Linked DNA regions of Homo sapiens: region 1 is linked to region 2. The links are contacts of gene promoters, found by promoter capture Hi-C in blood cells and fetal thymus (Javierre and others, 2016). All regions are on one chromosome and are shown on one strand. The core of a region is centred on a gene start or on the middle of the fragment in contact, and the rest is flanking DNA. Distances in the headings are between cores, read along the strand shown. Region 1 holds the start of CLPTM1L (CLPTM1 like). Region 2 holds the start of LPCAT1 (lysophosphatidylcholine acyltransferase 1).

Region 1 (5,106 bases), core at 2,001-4,500, 180 kb before region 2:
ACATTAACTGTCCTGAAACAGAACAATCATTTCCACTACATACATATTATATTCTGGGTCTCTAGAACCTATTCAAATACCTTTATAAAGCTGCTTCAATAAACTAATTTTAGCTCAGAAGTACTAAAAATGAAACCCACCTGCCCAGGGCTTTACGAGTCGTGTGTGTGTGTGTGTGTGTGTGTGTGTGTGCACGCGCACGCGTGCGCGTCCTGAGAACTCGGCACAGGTGTGGGCGCCTACAGCCGAAAGCAAAACGGCCCGCACTTCCTGCCTCCATCTCAGGAGGCTGAGAGGTCAATAACCCACCTGAGGCCACAAGGCTGAAGCAGCCAGATGGAAAGCAGCTTCTGGGCCTGGCCAGGGTACCAGCTGACCACACACACTGAATCACCCAACTCCGAAGCGACAGAAGGGAAGGGCAGCAGCCACGAGGGCTCCAGGTGCCTCGGCCCACACTACTGGAACCTCAGAAATTTAATGTGGGTAGTTTTTTTGGGTGTTGTAGTTTTAAGGATAAAAAGATGATCAGCCACAAAGGACTGACTTTCAAGGCTGTCAGTCCTGACTGTGTGGCATCCAGCACGAGCTGAGGAAAGGCCCGGCGAGCTGCTACAACTGTAGGCCTCGGACCAGGTGCCTGGCTCTTCACCCGCACACCAGGGCCCGACGTCCATACTACAGCCCCATGGAAAAACCTCGCATTCCACCTGTTTACGGTTACATGAGTTCTTCTTCCTCTTTAAAAGTCTCTTTTTTGAGACAAGGTCTCGCTGTCACCAGGCTGAAAGTGTAGGGGTGCAATCACAGCTCACTGCATCCTCAACCTCCTGAGCTCAAGTGACCTCCCGCCTCAGTCTCCCGAGTAGCTGGGACTACAGGTGGGCGTGCCACCATGCCTGGCTAACTTTGAAAACTGTTGTAGAGATGGGGTTTTGTCACATTGCCTAGGCTGGTCTTGAACTGCTGGGCTCAAGTGATCCTCCCGCCTTGGCCTCCCAAACTGCTGGGATTATAGGCATGAGTCACTGTGCCCGGCCTCTCCTTAAAAATCTTACGGTTGGCCGGGTGCGGCGGCTCACGCCTGTAATCCCAGCACCTTGGGAGGCCGAGCCGGGCAGATCACGAGGTCAGGAGTTTCAGACCAGCCCAGCCAACATGGTGAAACCCTGTCTCTACTAAAAATAAAAAAATTAGCCAGGCGTGGTGGCGGGTGCCTGTAGTCTCAGCTACTTTGGAGGCTAAGGCAGGAGAATCCCTTGAACCCGGGAACCGGAGGTTGCAGTGAGCAGAGATCACGCCACTGCACTCCAGCCTGGCAACAGAGCAAGACTCTATCTCAAAAAAAAAAAAAAATCTTACGGCCAAAGTTGTAATGAAAAACACAAAGGCATCTATGGCTCCTCACTACCCAGGAAAGAGTATGTCTCCACCAGGACATCTTAAGTGTCTCTCTTCAGGCAGAGGGTGCAGGGCTGTGTATTTCTGGTGGAATGTGCACTTGGAGACACTTGAGGCGGAGCTGTGTTAAGAGTGCTCATTCTCCCCACTTCCTCCAGGCTGACACTGTGCCAGGTCAAATGGAAAACCTCACTAGCTGTCCTTGGTAACTGGTACACGGCCCGGCACGGAAGAGGCAGTATTCATGTCTGGGAAATTAAACCCAGTGCAGATGAATCCTGAGCATTTTTGAAAGGTGTGGGCAGCTACAACCGAGCGGGCAGCTTGGTCACCAGCACTTCTGGCCTCCCCTTCATGGAGGCAGAGAGAGGGCAGGAACTGGCTTGAGGTCACAGGCCTAAAGAGGCCAGGCAGAAACCGGCTTGCCAGCGCCTCCAGCTACCCCCAGGGACTGGCTGCCTAGAGGGCGTGGAGTCCAGCATGAGTCTCAAACTTTCATTATTCTCTCCTCAGATACCTCCCAGGCAATGAAGGGAAATGGTTGACTTGTGAGAAGCAAATCATATTTAAAAGTATACTTATTCAATTAAAAAAAATTAGGCCATGTCAGATGTAATTTTTAAGATACTCTACATATTTGGACATTGATCTATTCTAACGTCACATGTCACTTATTTATGATTTTCTACAAAATTGCTTCCTCTATCCTCATCTCTTTTCCCTCACAAGTAACTTAAGCGAACTACTTCCACCAGGAAAAGACAAGTTGGTCCCCGGTAGTGAAACTGCAGAGTTGTCTGCTCTCCACTGGTTCACCAAGCGTGGCCCCTGCTCCTTCGGAGCCTCCCCGTCCAGGACATCCCACTGCCATCACACTCTGCTGAGAACTACTTCTTAAACGACATTCATCACCTGTCACCTTCCAGGCTGAATGTTTACAGGCCACGCATAGGCCTCCAGTTAGGATATTCTACCACTTCAAGACATTCGGTAAGACTAGTTCTCTAAAATAAACATGTTATGTACAGAAAGCTAACTTTTAAACAATCTGAACATGAGTAATGTTTTCCCTTTCACTGGCATTTTGTCCTACGCCCATACCTTTCAAATTTGGACTCCACATCAAAGTCTTCCACATTCAAGACCAGGTCGATGTTGTTCTCAGCACCCAGGTGGGACCTCGTCGTGGTGTACACGCTCAGCTGGAAAGGAGGGGGCGTCGAGAGTCAGCTCGGCCAGGCCCTGGCAGGACGCACTCAAATCCCACGGCCAGCTGGAGGGCGGAAGACCTGGCCGCTGGGGAACCAGGAAAGGTTCCATCTCGACTCGCGCGGCCACAGCTCCGAACTGGGACGGGAAGGCGACGTCTGGGGCCTGGAGGAGAGGCCCCCACCCCAACCCGCCCGGCCCCCGGCCCCGCGGACGCTCACCTGCAGCTTGGGCCGCCGCGCCAGGTAGGGCTGGATGCAGTTGGCGTCGCCGGAGCACGGGCGGGTGTAGACGATGCCGTACATGACCCAGCAGGTGTGCACCACGTAGACCACGAACACGCCCACCACCAAGCTGGTGAAGGAGCTGCGGCCGCTCCACATGGCGGCCCCGCGCCCGGCGCCCCCGGCCCGCCCGCCTCTCAGCCGCGAGCCCCGCCCGCCCGGCGCCCAGCCCGCCGCTCCGGGCTCCGCCGCTCACTGGAGAGCCGCCGCGCGCCACCGCCACCGCCGCGGGGGAACGAATGCGCCGCGCGCCGCAGACCGCCGGCCGCCCCGCATGCTCCGGCCCCGCTCCCACCTGGCGCCGCGGGATTCGCCGGCCCCGCGCGCCGCTTCCGGGCCCCGCCGCCTGCCGGAAGTGGACGCGCCGCGCGGCTCCCTGGGAAACGGAGTCTCGGCCGCTGCCGCGCACGCGCATCCAGGATGCGGCGCGTGTGTGACGTTACCCGCCCGCGCCGCCCTCCTGGGGTGCCTCTCAGGGACCCAGGCGCTCAGCTGCTGGGGCCGCGGAGGGCGTTCGCGGGGCGCCGGGGAAGGCTAGGGCCGCGGGGTCCCCGGGGCGCCGTCCCCAACCGCCGACGCCTGCCAGACCACCAAGTGGGGGCCATGTCGACGTGTGAGGAGCCTGGTGGAAGGTGATACTGGAATTCCGGCACTGGGCCTGCAACCCTTTTAGTCCACAGTTGTCAGAATCTAAAGGGAAGAAAAACGAAGTGCTCAGAACCCTCACAGAAGCCGGGCACCTCATCCCGTGTGTGGGTTTTTTCCCCAGTACAAACCCATTGTGGGGACAGGCGCTTTTGAAGAAAAAATTCAGATTCCCGGGCTGAAGTGGCTCCTCACAGCCTTGAACCTGACCCCCAGCTTCCCGCTAAAGCCGAGCGTGCCCAGCACGGCGAGGTCAGCAGAGGCCCCTCGGAGGGCGGCCGGGGGAGGTCAGTGGGAGGCCCTCGGGCAGCCGGTGGATGGGCCGGCGACCTCCCCGACTCCATCAGAAGCGCTCAGTCTGTGCCCTTCAGTTACTGGAGCAGCTCCCGTCCTTTGGCCAGTTCTCTGGAAGGTCGTTTCCGTTTCTGTGTCTGCCACACGTGCAGCACAATCGAAAAACCTTGTTCGACATTTCTAGAAAGAGTAGATGCTACTGAAGACCCAATAGATTGCTGAGGGTTTTCAGAGCAGGGACAATTGCATCAGGGTGCTGGGCTCCGGGAAGAACTCAGAGGACTTGGCTGACGGGCGGATGGGACAGTGATTGGTGCCGAGAATGGGCCAGAGAAGCAGGTCTGCCTGGAGCAGGCACCCGAGGCCGCGTGCAGGGGCGGTCCTGGGCCACCAACCCCTGGAAGCTGGGCCAGGAGCTTCGGAGCCATCCGAGGCTTTTTTCGCTCCTCTCACTCTCATGCACCTAGTTACCCTCCCCACAGAGTCTTCTCACGGCGCGGTTTTCGGCTACCATTGCAGTGGTGTCTGACTACACCCAGTGCCTCTATCGTTCCCCCCTCAGTCTGTTCTCGCTTCTTGGCAAACCTGTCCTTGGAAAGCCCTCTGCTGACTCCTGTTACCCTGATCAAATGCATCCTCCTCAGGAGGCTCGTGAGCCCTTTGCAGGGTGGCCCAAGAGGCATCACGCCCTGCTCTCCAGCCACTCTTGGGGTCCCCTACAGGGCCAGGCGTCCCACACCAGCAGCGGGTGCTGGTCCTGCCACAGTCTGTGCGACACGTGAATGAAGGCTGTAGACCTGTGGTCTGCGGGAGGCAAATTCCAACTCCAGCTGTCAAACATAAGGGGACTGGTAGGCTCTCCAGGGTGGATTGTCTCACGGCATCCAGAGGCAGGGACCGAGGCAGGGACCTAGCCAGGCCTCGGGAAGGAGCTGCAAACCCAGGAGCTCTGGGGTGTGGCTTCATCTCCCTCCCTCCCTACCACCCTACCCCCATCTCTCCGTGTTCTTCAGATGCCTCATTTTCCTGTCAGGCACCTGGCCAGCTCTAGGAGCTGGAATCAGGTTGGTGCCTCCTTGGTCAGTGTCCACCCCTAGTGTCATCCACAGTGACCAACGGAAGGGGTGGCCGGTGGTACAGGACATTGGCCATCTTGGGAAAGATCACAGAGACAGGAAGGGCCTCTCCAGCTGAGCAGATGAGAGGTTCTTCAGTGGTCTGGACACATTTGCCCACTCATGGCCGTCCCCCTGCCCTGTTGAGAGAACCGATG
Region 2 (4,754 bases), core at 56-2,555:
TTCTTTCAGATAAAGTACTTTATGCATTAACAAATCTCCATCTTCCCGGAAATCTATTCTCACAATTGGAAGCGTGCTCCCTACAAACCGGACAGCCCCATAGGCCCCGAAACAGTGCTTGCTTCTAGGAATTATTCTAGAGTCAAAAGTAAGGTCCTCTTGAGAGTGGATCTCAGGTAACTGTAAGCCCAGCTGGCAGCCAGGTAGCCGGAAAAGCCAGGCTGAGCCAGCACATCCCCGGTGCAGCTTCCTGCAGCGAGCGGCCCCCTCCCCACGACGCCCCCGGGTCTCCCCTCACCACTGTCCCATCGCAGGATCTCAGCAAACCGTTCCCTCCCACGTGGCAGCCCAGGTTGCATAAAGTTGATTCGGGTCAGACCAGCCCCGAGAAAGCATCCCTTACAACAGGAGCGAAGCATGCACCCCAGAAGGCAACGTGCGGCCGCAGAGCAGGGAGACCCGTGCGCCTACAGGGGACCCTACAGGGGACCCGCACCGCCCGCGCGCCCTGTCCCGGGCACCACCAGGCCCCGCACACGAGGCTCACCCAGAGCCGCGGTGCCCTCCCGCCCGCGGGCCGCGTCCAGGCAAAGCCGCTCCGGAGTCCCCGGGCTGCGCGCAGGGCCTGCCAAGGCGGGCGGGGCCCGGACCAGGGACGAGCGCGGGGACCGGCGATGCGGGTCCAGCCTCCCGCGGGAGCCGAGGTCGGGGCTCTGGGAGGCAGAGAAAGGGTTGTGGGCCCGGTTCAGGGTGCAGGGGTCTGGGGGGAGGAGCAGAACGCGGGGCGGGGATGGGAAGCGGGGACCCCGAGGAAGGCGCTGAGGGACCAGGATGCGCGTGCGGGCGGCGGGAAGCCGGCGCCGAGACCGAGGCATCGGGTGCGGGCGGCGGGGACGCGAACTGAGGGGCGGCCGCGGGGAGGGAAGGCGCCGCGGCTCGCAGGGCCGCGCCGCGCCCCAGGCCCCCTCCCCGGCCCCTCCTCGGCCGCGCCTCCCTGGCCCCAGCATCCCTGGCGTCCGCGCCGGCTCCCGGGGCCGCGCGCCCTGGGCACCCACCTGGGCCTTCTGCAGGGCGCTGAGGCGCAGCTCGTGCACGAAGGGGTTCCGCCCCGGGGGCGCCAGCAGCCGAGCGTCGCTGGCCCCTGCGCTGGAGGCAGGGGCGGCCCGGGGTCCGCATCCCCGCAGCCTCATGGCCGCGCCGTCCCGCGGCGAGCGCAGCCGAGCTGCCTGGGGCGCCGAGCGGGGCCGGGGCTAGCTGGGCGCGGGTCTCGGGGCGCGGGCCGAGGATGCGCGGCGGCTGGAGCGGGCCGGGCGCGCAGGCGCGGGAGGTGACGTGGGCGGAGCGGGAGCGCCGGCCGGGGCGGGGCGTCCCTGGAAGCCTCGCCTCCCGCCGGCCGGCAGGGGCGGCACCAGCCGGAGTTCCGCTACCTGGTGGTTTCTCTGGGGTCTGTGGGGGGCCGGGGCCGCTGGGGACCGGGGGCGCCTCCTGCAGCCACTGGAGCACAGGGATCCCCGGCAGGGTCTGCGCCAGGAGAAAGGGAGGTCCCCCGGGCCCGCGAGGCTGCCACGTCGTCCCCTTCCGCCGCTCGGCCCGCCTGCTCGCGGGGAGGGAGGAAGGGGCGGGCACGCGTCCAGCTTACGCGCAAGGCGGGCCAGGCCCTGGGTGCCGAGCCCCGGGCTGTTCCGGCGAAGGCCCCACGCCATTCTTCTTATTCGTTGGGCTCCTAGCTCGCACCGGCGACCCTGGAAGCTGCCCCGGGCTGAGGGAGCTTCTTCCAGCCGCGCCTCAGCCCAGGCGACTCCCGCCTGAGGTCCACTCGACCTTAGGACCCCCCAGACCTCGGGATCCCCTCAGATCTCAGGACCCCTCAAGCCTCAGGACCCCCTCAGACCTCAGGACCCCTCCGATCTCAGGACCTCTCAGGCCTCAGGCCCCGCAGGGATGGCCCAGGCAGGAGGCGCACATAGGGGCCCTGACTGTCCGTGCTGGTTGTGCAGGGGCTGCGATGAGATCCCAGCGCTTTCTCACCCGTAGCTGCTTTGGCTCGGGCATTGCCCTTGTGGTGCTCAGGAGCCGTGTGAGGAGCCCCAGGGTGGGGCCCATAATTAGCCGGAGCGAGAGTAGGATGGGCTCCTGCCTCCGGGTGAACACGCTTGGATTTCAGAACTCACGCAGGCCTTCGGTCACAGTGCTCACGGCTTCCTCACCCCGGCTGGCCCTGTTGGTTCCTTCATGGCCAACGGACCTCACCCAGACAGAGCCGGTTTGGGCCACCTGGCCAACCCCCCAGGGTCCTGGCTCCTGGGGATGTCACTGCTGTGTTGGCCCCAGCTGGGCCCCATCCTCAGCAGACGCCAGGGAGTGCCCCGACCCCTCCAATGACCCTGCCTGCGCCCTTGTGGACCTCATAGTGCAGCGGGCTGGCAGAGACCCTTCTGTGTCTGAGACCGGGGTGAGGGCCAGGGGTCTGTGCCATCCACATATCATGCACAGAGAAGGCCCCGGCAGGCCAGACCCGCTGCATGGCCTTATTCCTGCCCCATAAGAGTCCCAGCCCATATTCCTGCCCCATAAGAGTCCCAGCCCATGCCTAGCAGCAGCACCTGTCCCAAGTGCCACACCCACGGGGATGGGGTGAGCCCTGTGTGCTGGTGGGCATTGGTGGCTCTGTGGCCCAGCCACCAGCGTTGCACCCACCTCCTGGGCTTTTAGTGGCCACTTGCTCTGATCCCCAAAACCAGAGCCCAGCACCCGAGGCCACCCAAGGCTCCTCACCGAACTGATCATCAAGAAAGCCCAGGACACAAAGCCTGCCAGCCACAGGGCAGCACCTGCACCCCAGCGATCCAGGCGGCCCCACCTGCTGCCTGAGTGCTCTGGAGAGGAGGGGCCCTAGGGTGTCCCAGTCCTGGGATGAGAGCAGCCTCAGGACTGGACTTGGAGAGCCATGAAAGTGGGGTCCTCCCAGAAGCACAGGCCAGGAAGCGGTGTGTGGCGGAGGGGAAACCTGCTGGAGATGGTGCAGAGCCAGATTCAATGGGGAGAGCTGCCAGAGAGTCATGGCTGTGTCCCCAGAAGATGCAAAAGTCCTAACCCACAGCACCTGTGGCCGCGACCTTATTTGGAAACAGGGTCTTTGCAGATGATCAGGTTAAGAGGAAGTCATTAGGGTGGGCCCTAGTCTGAAATGGCTTGTGTCCCTATAGAGAGGGAGATTCGGTCTCAGAGACAGACACAGAGAGAGCTCCATGGGAAGGCCAGGGTTCTGCTGCTACAGGCAAGCAGTTCCCAGGAGCTGGAGAGGCCTGGAGCAGGTCCTCTCTAGTGCTCTCAGAGGGAGCCTAGGCCTAGGGTGCCATGATCGCAGGCTTCTGGCCTCCAGACTGGGAGAGAATAAATTCCTTCTGCTTTAACCTGCAGAGTGCAAAGTGAGTTGGAACCCAGGGAAGGAGGTGGGGAGGCTGGGGGAAGAACCTCATACTGCCCGGCAATCTAAGCAGGGTCAGCAGGTTGTCCTTGAGCCAAGGTCGGTGGAAAGAGGAGTCCCTCTCCCAGAGGGGTCTTAGGTGGAGCCACTGTGGGCAGCGTGGCCTTGGTGTAGAAGCTCAGTGGATCCTTGGGTCACAGGCACCATGTGGAGGAGGCGCAGAGGCCCAGCTCCGGGGTCAGTACACAAGGGGGCACAGCTGGGAGGGTGGGTGTGACAGGGCCAAGGGCTGTGCAGAGCAGGGGGCAGGACTGGGGCACACTCGTCCTCACCAAGCAGAACCCAAGAAGGCCCCAGAGAGCGGCCAAGGAGCGGAGGTCCCCAGAGGGGCTGAGTCCACGGAACTGCCCCATCCAGGAGGACTGGCCAGGAGAGAACTGGGAAGGCCAGCCAGTGGTAGTAGCAAGGGTGGAGACCACCACCCTGCAGGGTGCTGTGGAGTGGGCAGGAGTTACAGAGGTTCTTTCCCAGCTACCTGAGAAAGGAGGAAGCGTGATGGGCAGGAGGAGGAAAATGGATGCTTGGCGGGAGGCTGGGATCCAGGGCAGCAGCTCAAGGAAGGGGCCCAGGACATGTTCCTGGGTGGAAGGCAACAGGCCAGCCTCACAGGAGACGTTGAAAACCCCTGTGAGAGGGGGTGTCATGGGCCCATCTCAGTCTGGAAGGATTCTGCGCTCAGAGGAAGGAAAGGCCTGGGGCCCGGAGCGGGGACTCCTTCTCTGCTGCAGCTGGAAGGGGTTGGATGGTCCACAGGGCACGTGCCCAGGGGGTGGGGAGCTGGGGCACTCTTGTGTGTGGGAGTCAGTTTTCTCCTGGGGACTGCGAGGGGTGGGGGAGAGGGGCTGCTTATGGGGAAATCAGCGCAAGCGTGGAGGAGCAGCAAGGAAATTCCTCCACCCACACTGGGCCTTCACACTTAGGCTTTGGTTCTGCTATGTAATGGAACGTTCTTAAGACCTGGAGGGTCTGGAAGCTTGACTAAGAGAAGTTGGTCTTGGGTGGGGAGGTATAAGCAGTTTTCTCTGTCTAGCAGGGGAAACATGAGTTTCTCATTAGGACTTAGTTTTGGGAAAACCACCCTAAGGGCCCTTTAGCTACAAAGGGAGCCCCCACTGTGGTTCTCAGGAACCTCCTGGAAGCCCCCCACAGCTCCCTGGGGCTGGTAACCACACCCCTGAGGCTTCTTGCTCTGGTTTTGTCTCTGTTTTAAGAGTGTAAGCTCACAGAGAAGTGTTTCCTATACTCCAAGTGCATTGAGAACACAAGG

What was found. The method cuts DNA at HindIII sites, captures the fragments that hold promoters and counts their contacts. A CHiCAGO score of 5 or more calls a contact.
Region 1: the fragment with the promoter of CLPTM1L here is called in contact with the fragment with the promoter of LPCAT1 in region 2 in 2 of 17 cell types (naive CD4 T cells and monocytes); the score reaches 6.1 in naive CD4 T cells.

What each region holds. Positions count from the first base shown.
Region 1 is chr5:1,341,849-1,346,954 of GRCh38, forward strand. It overlaps CLPTM1L (CLPTM1 like), which reads right to left and starts at 3,251. Exons shown (of 17, transcript NM_030782.5): 1 at 2,832-3,251; 2 at 2,503-2,603; 3 at 1-12. The coding sequence starts at 2,993. The HindIII fragment of the contact is 23,624 bases long and covers 1-5,106 here.
Region 2 is chr5:1,522,655-1,527,408 of GRCh38, forward strand. LPCAT1 (lysophosphatidylcholine acyltransferase 1) reads right to left here and starts at 1,306. Exons shown (of 14, transcript NM_024830.5): 1 at 1,056-1,306. The coding sequence starts at 1,190. RefSeq lists silencers at 494-693, 964-1,273, 1,294-1,693 and a cis regulatory region at 2,463-2,698. The HindIII fragment of the contact is 5,602 bases long and covers 1-4,458 here.